Regions from separate parts of the Homo sapiens genome. Here region 1 is linked to region 2. Evidence: promoter capture Hi-C in human tissues and cell types (Jung and others, 2019). All regions are on one chromosome and are shown on one strand. The core of a region is centred on a gene start or on the middle of the fragment in contact, and the rest is flanking DNA. Distances in the headings are between cores, read along the strand shown. Region 1 overlaps AP1G1 (adaptor related protein complex 1 subunit gamma 1). Region 2 holds the start of MARVELD3 (MARVEL domain containing 3).

What was found. The method cuts DNA at HindIII sites, captures the fragments that hold promoters and counts their contacts. A contact is called where the count stands out against the background at its distance.
Region 1: a contact is called between a fragment that was not itself captured here and the fragment with the promoter of MARVELD3 in region 2, in 1 of the 25 tissues and cell types used here (mesendoderm cells).

Annotation. Positions count from the first base shown.
Region 1 is chr16:71,782,902-71,787,009 of GRCh38, forward strand. The region is part of intron 2 of AP1G1 (adaptor related protein complex 1 subunit gamma 1); the gene reads right to left. Among named protein-coding and RNA genes, the nearest start is that of AP1G1, 24 kb to the right of the region's middle. The HindIII fragment of the contact is 4,378 bases long and covers 1-3,532 here.
Region 2 is chr16:71,624,576-71,628,406 of GRCh38, forward strand. It overlaps MARVELD3 (MARVEL domain containing 3), which reads left to right and starts at 1,609. Exons shown (of 3, transcript NM_052858.6): 1 at 1,609-2,121. The coding sequence starts at 1,655. RefSeq lists a silencer at 2,430-2,479. The HindIII fragment of the contact is 11,141 bases long and covers 1-3,831 here.

The sequences.
Region 1 (4,108 bases), core at 94-2,593, 160 kb after region 2:
TAACATCATTCAAGCTTATTTTGTACATTTCCTTACCCTGGATTTGGGATCAGCCATCTTTCCAATGGGCTGAAAATAGTATCTGGAGACCACAGTCTAGGCTTAAGGATAGCTCATTGCTTCTGGTCTGGTCATTAATTCTAAGGCTTTTCAAGGAATAGTACTAGCTTAAGTACTTTATTTTAAGAAAAAAATTCCTTAATGTGAGAAAGCGTGTCTACTAAACCCTATGACAGTCACCCACATATTACTGTAGAGCATTTGTTTACGGCTTTAACAAGAGTGGCTATTATCATCACTTATTTGCAATAATGTACTACCTGTACAGTGTAATAAGAAAATAAGAAAATGTATAAGGATATCAAAGGAAAAAAAAGAACTGCCATTGTTTGCAGACAATAGTAGTATTGACTACATGGAAACAATGACGTCCACAGAGACTCTTAGAACCAAGTTCAATAATGTGGCAAAGTAGATAAATATTATTAAAAATCAATTATATCACTACAGATCTACAACATAATTATTTAAAATTTTAAAGGATACTATTTGCAACAGAAACAAGAGCTCTAAAGAACCTACAAATATATTTCTCCAAAGATGTGTTAAGACTTAAAAATCCTGTGTTTTAAAGGAAATTTTTTTTTAATTTTTTAAAAAGATGTATAAGACTGTACAGAAAACATTGTAAAATTTAGAGAAGCTAAAGAAGTGCAGTCCTATGCTACACAGATGGAAGGGAAGAATATCCTACACAGGTAATTGGGTATGGCAAGCAAGGCTAGAACTGAGGAAAAACAGAATCAGGCCCAGCCTAAAAGCAGCACACTACTGACATATGGAAATGTAGATTTCCATTCCACAAATCTTACTATGTTTCTAAGAGAAACTAGAAGTCCAGATTTCTATGGAAATTCTTTTTTCTTTTTTATGTACTGGCAGAAACAATTTTAAATACCACACAGGACAAAAAAGAACACATCTGTGGAAGAATTTGGCCCCGAGCCACCAGTTTTCTACTCCTGCAATCTACCTACTTATCTTTAGATAATTCATTAATATTTCTGGGTTGTGCTTAACCTACACACGCAAAAGGTTACACACACTACAGGAAATCTATCACCACTTTTGTTATAAAAATGCTGAGGATACTGTCTCTTACATTATTAAGAGACTCCTAGACAAAAGGTCCATATAAAAAATCTCTTAGAATTCAGTGCTTCAAAAAACATTGCCGTCCTTTAGGAAATGGTAAAATGCATAACATGAGGCTTTTTATATACAAAATGTGTCTAACACTTATAACTTAATCTTCATAATAACACTATAAAGTAGGCATTAAGATTGTCCCCATTTTACAGATGAGGAAACTGAGACACAGAAAGGTTAAAGATCTTGCTCAAAGCCAGAAGTCACATCCAGGCAATCTGGTTCTCTGCAGTTTTGCTCTTCCATCTTGGCAATAACAACTACCTGAGAGGTGACTGTCTCTTTTCTTGCCTTAGCTGTCGCACCAACAGCAACTACACTGGCCTTATGCTCTAAATGCTTCCTTTTTCCAACTCTTAATTTCTACTATTATTTTTCTCTTTAATGTAGATGCTGGTAGTTTATGCCATCTCAAATCCTTTGTACAGCAAGGCAGGGCTAAGATATTTTTTTGTTGTTGTTGTTTGAGACAGAGTCTCGCTTTGTCGCCCAGGCTGGAGTGCAATGGTATGATCTCGGCTCACTGCAACCTCCACCTTCCAGGTTCAAGTGATTCTCCTGCCTCAGCCTCCCAAGTAGCTGGGATTACAGGCACCCACCATCACGCCTGGCTAATTTTTGTATTTTTAGTAGAGACAGAGTTTCACCATGTTGGCCAGGATGGTCTCAAACTCCTGACTTCAGGTGATCCCCCTACCTTGGCCTCCCAAAGTGCCAGGATTACAGGCGTAAGTCACCGTGTCCATCCTACCCCTTAAGTTTTATTGCAAAACTTAAGACTTTTAAAATATAGCTACTAGAAATTTTTAAATTTCTATGTAGCTTGTGTTTTATTTCTATCAGCACCATACTAGATACTGTAGTAAAAAGTTTTAAAAAGGTGAAATTAGTTTTAATAATATTCTTTAATCAATATATCTAAAATATCATTTCAACGTATGATCAACACAAAAATTATAATTAGGTATTTTACACTTGCTTTTGCACTAAAGCTTCTATATACAGTATGTACTTTACACTTACAGCACATCTCAATTTGTACATTTTCATCAGAAATAGCTAAACTAAAAAGAAAAAAAAAGAAATAGCTGAACTGTATTTAGATTTCATAAAATTTACTATTTATAAAGTAGACTCACATACCCAAGTTGTTTAAAACATATTTAAAAGTCTTCCAATAACTAGGCTGGGTGTGGTGGCTCACACCTGTAATTCCAGCACTTTGGGAGGCCAAGACGGTGGATCATTTGAGGTCAGGAGTTCAAGACTAGTCTGGACAACATGGTGAAACCCTGTCTCTACCAAAAATACAAAAATTAGCCGGGTGTGGTGGCAGGTGCCTGTAGCCCAGCTACTCAGGAGGCTGAGGCAGGAGAATCGCTTGAACCTGGGTAGTGAAGGCTGCAATGAGCCAAGATTGTGCCATTGTACTCCAGCCTGAGTGACAAGAGCGAAACCCTGCCTCAAAAAAAAAAAAAAAAAAAAAAAAGTGGGCTGGGAATGGTGGCTCACGCCTGTAATCCCAGCACTTTGGGAGGCCGAGGCGGGCAGATCACGAGGTCAGATCGAGACCACCCTGGCTAACACAGTGAAATCCCGTCTCTACTAAAAACACAAAAAAATTAGCCAGGCATGGTGGCAGGCGCCTGTAGTCCCAGCTACTAGGGAGGCTGAGGAAGGAGAATGGCGTGAACCCAGGAGGCAGAGTTTGCAGTGAGCTGAGATCACACCATTGCACTCCAGCCTGGGCAACAGGGCGAGACTCCATCTCAAAGAAAAAAAAAAGTGGCTATTATTATACACTAAATGAAAATGGCACTGTGATCATACGTGCAGGTGACAAAATCTAGATATGAACCTTTTAAAGGCATATTATAAAGGTAATTCCAACGGATGGGGTACCAAATTACTGATATGAACAAGATGGTGACTCATTGAAACAGAGGAAACAGAATAAGAACTTAAAATTATGATTCCCAGTCCCATTCAGAAAAATATTTTATGATAAAATTTTAGCACAGTTTTCTCGAGCATTTACTTTCTAAGAATTAAATATTTTATCAAATAATTAAGTCCCAAAATACCCCCAAATGCCACCTAACCTTAAAAGCACATTCTATTTAAACATATTAAAGAAATGAATCTTAGAAAATATAGAGAGATTTTTTACAAAATGAAATATCCCCCAAAGTCTTAAATCTACTCTGATTCCAAATTCAAGAATTTGCCCTTAGTCCAGGGACTGTGGCTTACACCTATAATCACAGCACTTTGGGAGGTTGAGGCCCAAAGATCACTTGAGCCCAGGAGTTCAACACCAACCAGGGAACTGTGGCAGAAATCCAACTCAACAAAAATTTTTTTTTTTTGAGAAAGAGTCTCATTCTGTTGCCAGGCTGGAGTACAGTGGCACGATCTCAGCTCACTGCAACCTGTACCTCCCGGATTCAAACGATTCTCCTGCTTCAGCCTCCTGAGTAGCTGGGACTACAGGCACGCACCACCATGCCCAGCTAATTTTTGTATTTTTAGTAGAGAGGGGGTTCCACCATGTTGGCCAGGATAGCCTCTATCTCTTGACCTCATGATCCACCCACCTCGGCCTCCCAAAGTTCTGGGTGTACAGGCGTGAGCCACCGCACCCAGCCCAAATTTTTTTTTTAATTAGCTGACCGGGCACAATAGTGCACGCCTGTAATCTCAGTACTTTGAGAGGCCAAGACACATGGATTGCTTGAGCTCAAGAGTTCAAAATGAGCCTGAGCAACACAGCAAAGCCCTGTCTCTATAAAAAATACAAAAATTAGCCGGGTGTGGTTCCCAGAAGGTCGAGGCTGCAGTGAGCCCAGTAGAAAGTAAGCCTGAGGTGTCCACTGCACAATCCAGCCTGGGCAACAGA
Region 2 (3,831 bases), core at 359-2,858:
CCATTGTTTAGAATAAAAATGCACACTGTCGTCTACACCATCTGCCTGGTCCACTTCTCCAGCCTCAATTCATGCCCACCAACTCTACTCCCAGGGACCTCCTTGTCCAGCTCCCGCGTTCCTCAACCTTCTCTCTTTCTGGGACATTTTCTCAGCCTTCTTGTCATCCAGAACTCAATTCAAACGACATCTTCCCAGGTCTATATGAGGAAACCTGCCCTTCCCATTAAACTTTAGACACTGTCTTCTTTGTTTACTACCTGTTTTCCCTTTTCCTGACACACTAGAATGCAATCACCCTGCAAGCAAATTTTCCACTATATCTCCAGTACCTGCTAAAGCAGGTGCTCATACATATTTGCTGAAAGAATTAATTACCAGATGGCAATTGTATATATTTTGTAATATCCTTACTTGGCAGAATTAAAAGCTGCCAATTTTGTGTAAGTCCCCATTTTAAAAAACAGGGCTATTTGTAAGCCCAGGACTATTGTGATAGATGAACTGGCTGCAAGCCCCTTACAACATAGGTGTTATAAGGAAAACAGGAGAAGGGAGAAAGAGGGACAGTGGATGGGTGGAGGGAGAAGTGGAAGGTGGGTGACTGGGTGGATGTGTGGGTAGGTTAGTGGCCAGATGGATGGATGAATGGGTGAGTGGATGAATGGTGGATGGGTGGATGCGTGGGTGGGTGGCTGGATGGGTGAGTGGGTGGATGAATGGGTGGATGGATGGGTGAGTTGGTAGATGGGTGGGTGAGTGGGTGGGTGGATGGGTGGATGAGTGAATGGGTGGGTGGATGGATGGTGGATGGGTGGGTGAGAGTGGATGGTTAGGTGAGTGGGTGGATGGATGGGCAGGTGAGTGGGTGAGTGGGCGGATGGTAGATGGGTGGGTGGATGGGTGGGTGAGTGGGTGGATGGGTGGATGGATGGATGGAGGGTGGGTGGGTGGGCGGATGGGCAGGTGAGTGGGCGGGTAGATGGGTGGTGGATGGGTGGGTGAGTGGGTGGATAGATGGATGGATGGGTGGATGGTTAGATGGGTAGGTGAGTAGGTGGATAGGTGGATAGACGGGTGTATGGATGGGTGAGTGGTTGAATGGGTGGATGGTTGGACGGGTGGGTGAGTGGGTGGATGGGTGGATGGATGGTGGATGGGTGGGTGAGTGGGTGGATGGGTGGGTGAGTGGGTGGATGGGTGGGTGAATGGATGAGCGGGTAGTGGGTGATTGGGTGAATGAATGAGTGTCTGGCTGAGTGAGTGAGAGGATGGGTACCTCTGGGAAGGTAAATCCAAGTTGCAGTGTAAGTTGAGCCAGGGGAGGTGGCCACAGTTGGCTCCCTTAGGCCGCCCACCTCGTGGGGTCACCAAGGGGTTACTTCGGGGCAGAAAGGTGCGGCTGTGGGTCGCCCCGCCCGGGTTTCCAGCAGCAGCACCCCAGCCCCCACCCAGCACACAGGCACCCCTCCCGCCCGGGCCCCAGACGCGCTCAGGCCGCCCCCTGAGGGCGCCCGTTCTCAGGTGAGCTCCCGGACTAGCGCGCATGCGCACAGGTGAGTGCCCGCCCCGCCCCCGGGCTTGGCCACCTGCCCAAGAAACTTGTTGGTTGTTGCCCTCAGGTCGCTCCCGGGCGGGGACACGGAACCCGGCCATGGAAGATCCGTCGGGGGCTCGCGAGCCCCGGGCCCGGCCGAGAGAGCGGGACCCGGGACGGCGCCCCCACCCAGACCAAGGCCGCACCCACGATCGACCGCGGGACCGACCCGGGGACCCGCGCAGGAAGCGAAGCAGCGACGGGAACCGGCGAAGGGACGGGGACCGGGACCCGGAGAGAGACCAGGAGAGGGACGGGAACCGCGACCGGAACCGGGACCGGGAGAGGGAGAGAGAGAGGGAAAGAGACCCGGACCGAGGCCCCCGCCGGGACACACACAGGGACGCGGGCCCTCGCGCAGGTGAACACGGAGTTTGGGAAAAACCGCGCCAAAGCCGGACGCGGGACGGAGCCCGGGGACTGACCTGGGACGCAGCCGCGCCTCCTGGGCCCGCGCCCTGGGAAGCCCCGGAGCCGCCGCAGCCGCAGAGGAAGGGAGACCCCGGGCGCCGCAGACCCGAAAGGTGAGAGGGGCCGGGGCGCTGCGACCTCCGCGCCGGGGACACCTGTGGCCCAGGCCGGCCCGCGAGGCCCTGGCGTCCCCGGGTTCTCGTCCTAGGAGCCCGTTTAAATGAACAAATGCCGTTTCTCCCTTCTGCGCTCTCAGAGGCGACCTGGCAGGGAAGGAAAACTTTAGGGTTCCCCCTTCTCGTGGCCTGAACCCAACTAACAAAGCAAAAACCACCCCTGTGAGCAGTGGCTGGGCTGGAGGACCTGGAGAAGAGAAAGAGAGGCCCCGGGACCCGAGAGGGAGGGGTGGGAGGAGACCAGGCGGGTGGGGTTCACCCCAGGCTCCTCCCCGGCCCGGCCCGCATGGTCACAGGACTGCGCCTTGGGGTTCAGACCCTTGTCCCGTGTTCCAGAGCCAGCCCTTCCCGACTCCAAAGTCCCCTTCCTTGTGGCCGGGCCGCCCACTTGGGAAGCCCGATGAAGAGTTAATAGTTTAATGTGTTACCCCTCCCAGGAATAGGTGCCTTCAGAAACAGGTGGGCCGGCGCGGTGGCTCATGCCTGTAATCCCAACACTTTGGGAGGCCGAGGCGGGCGGATCACCTGAGGCCAGGAGTTCGAGACCAGCCTGGCCAACATGGTGAAACCCCGTCTTTACTAAAAATACAAAAACTTAGCCAGGCGTGATGGCAGATGCCTGTAATCCCAGCTACTTGGGAGGCTGAGGAGGGAGAATCGCTTGAACCCGGGAGGCGGAGGTTGCAGTGAGCCGAGATCGCACCACTGCACTCCAGCCTGGGCGACAAAGCGAGACTCCGTCTCAAAAAAAAAAAAAAAAGTCAGATGGGAGACGCTACATTTTTAACCAAAGAACAAAGTCTACGTAAAATTCTCCCACTGAAGGGTACAGGTTTGTTTTCCCTTTTGCCAGTGAGGTCTCTCTAGGCAGCGTCATTCGAATCCCACGGCTGCTTGAGACCGCACCCTCCTAATGAAAAAACTTTGCCATCTCTGCCTTGCACAGAATTCCCATAGGCCCCTTGTAAGGAGAAAGGTTCAGGGTGTACTGGAAGACTCTGTGAGCTAGGGGAGGGTGGGGGGGGAAGGGAAGACAAGAGGGGACCTGGTCCCCACACCGCCTCCTAGGGACCTGGTGTTTTTTCCATCCATTGAATACCCAGATAATGTGCCCCACACGGTGAACTGTGAGCAGATGGGATATCTCCCCTGCCAGCTCCAACAGGAGACAGGTCCGAGGTGACGACTGCTTCTGGTTTTTGACACCTGGCCTCTCCTCTAGGGAGGAGTCAGGCTCCCCTCTCCCAGGGACTTGGAGGCTGAGTCCAGTCTGTCTCCCTGCTATGTCCACACAGCGGGAGAGCTCCTATCCTGAGTTTATGTTACATTATCTAAAACTAACTAGCATAACAAAGGGTGCGCCCAGATACAGTCAAAGCTTCGCCCAGGGAAACAGCTGTTGTTTCCCTGACTAAAGCCCATTGCACTTGCAACTGCAGGACCTGGGAGAATTCAGAGCTGCATTTTTAGGTTTCTTTAAAAACCACTGTCCGAGCCGGACGCGGTGGCTCACACCTGTAATCCCAGAACTTTGGGAGGCCGAAGCGGGCAGATCATTGGAGGTAAGGAGTTCGAGACCAGCCTGGCCAACACTGCGAAACCCCATCTCTACTAAACATACAAAAAAATTAGCAGAGCGCGGTGGCG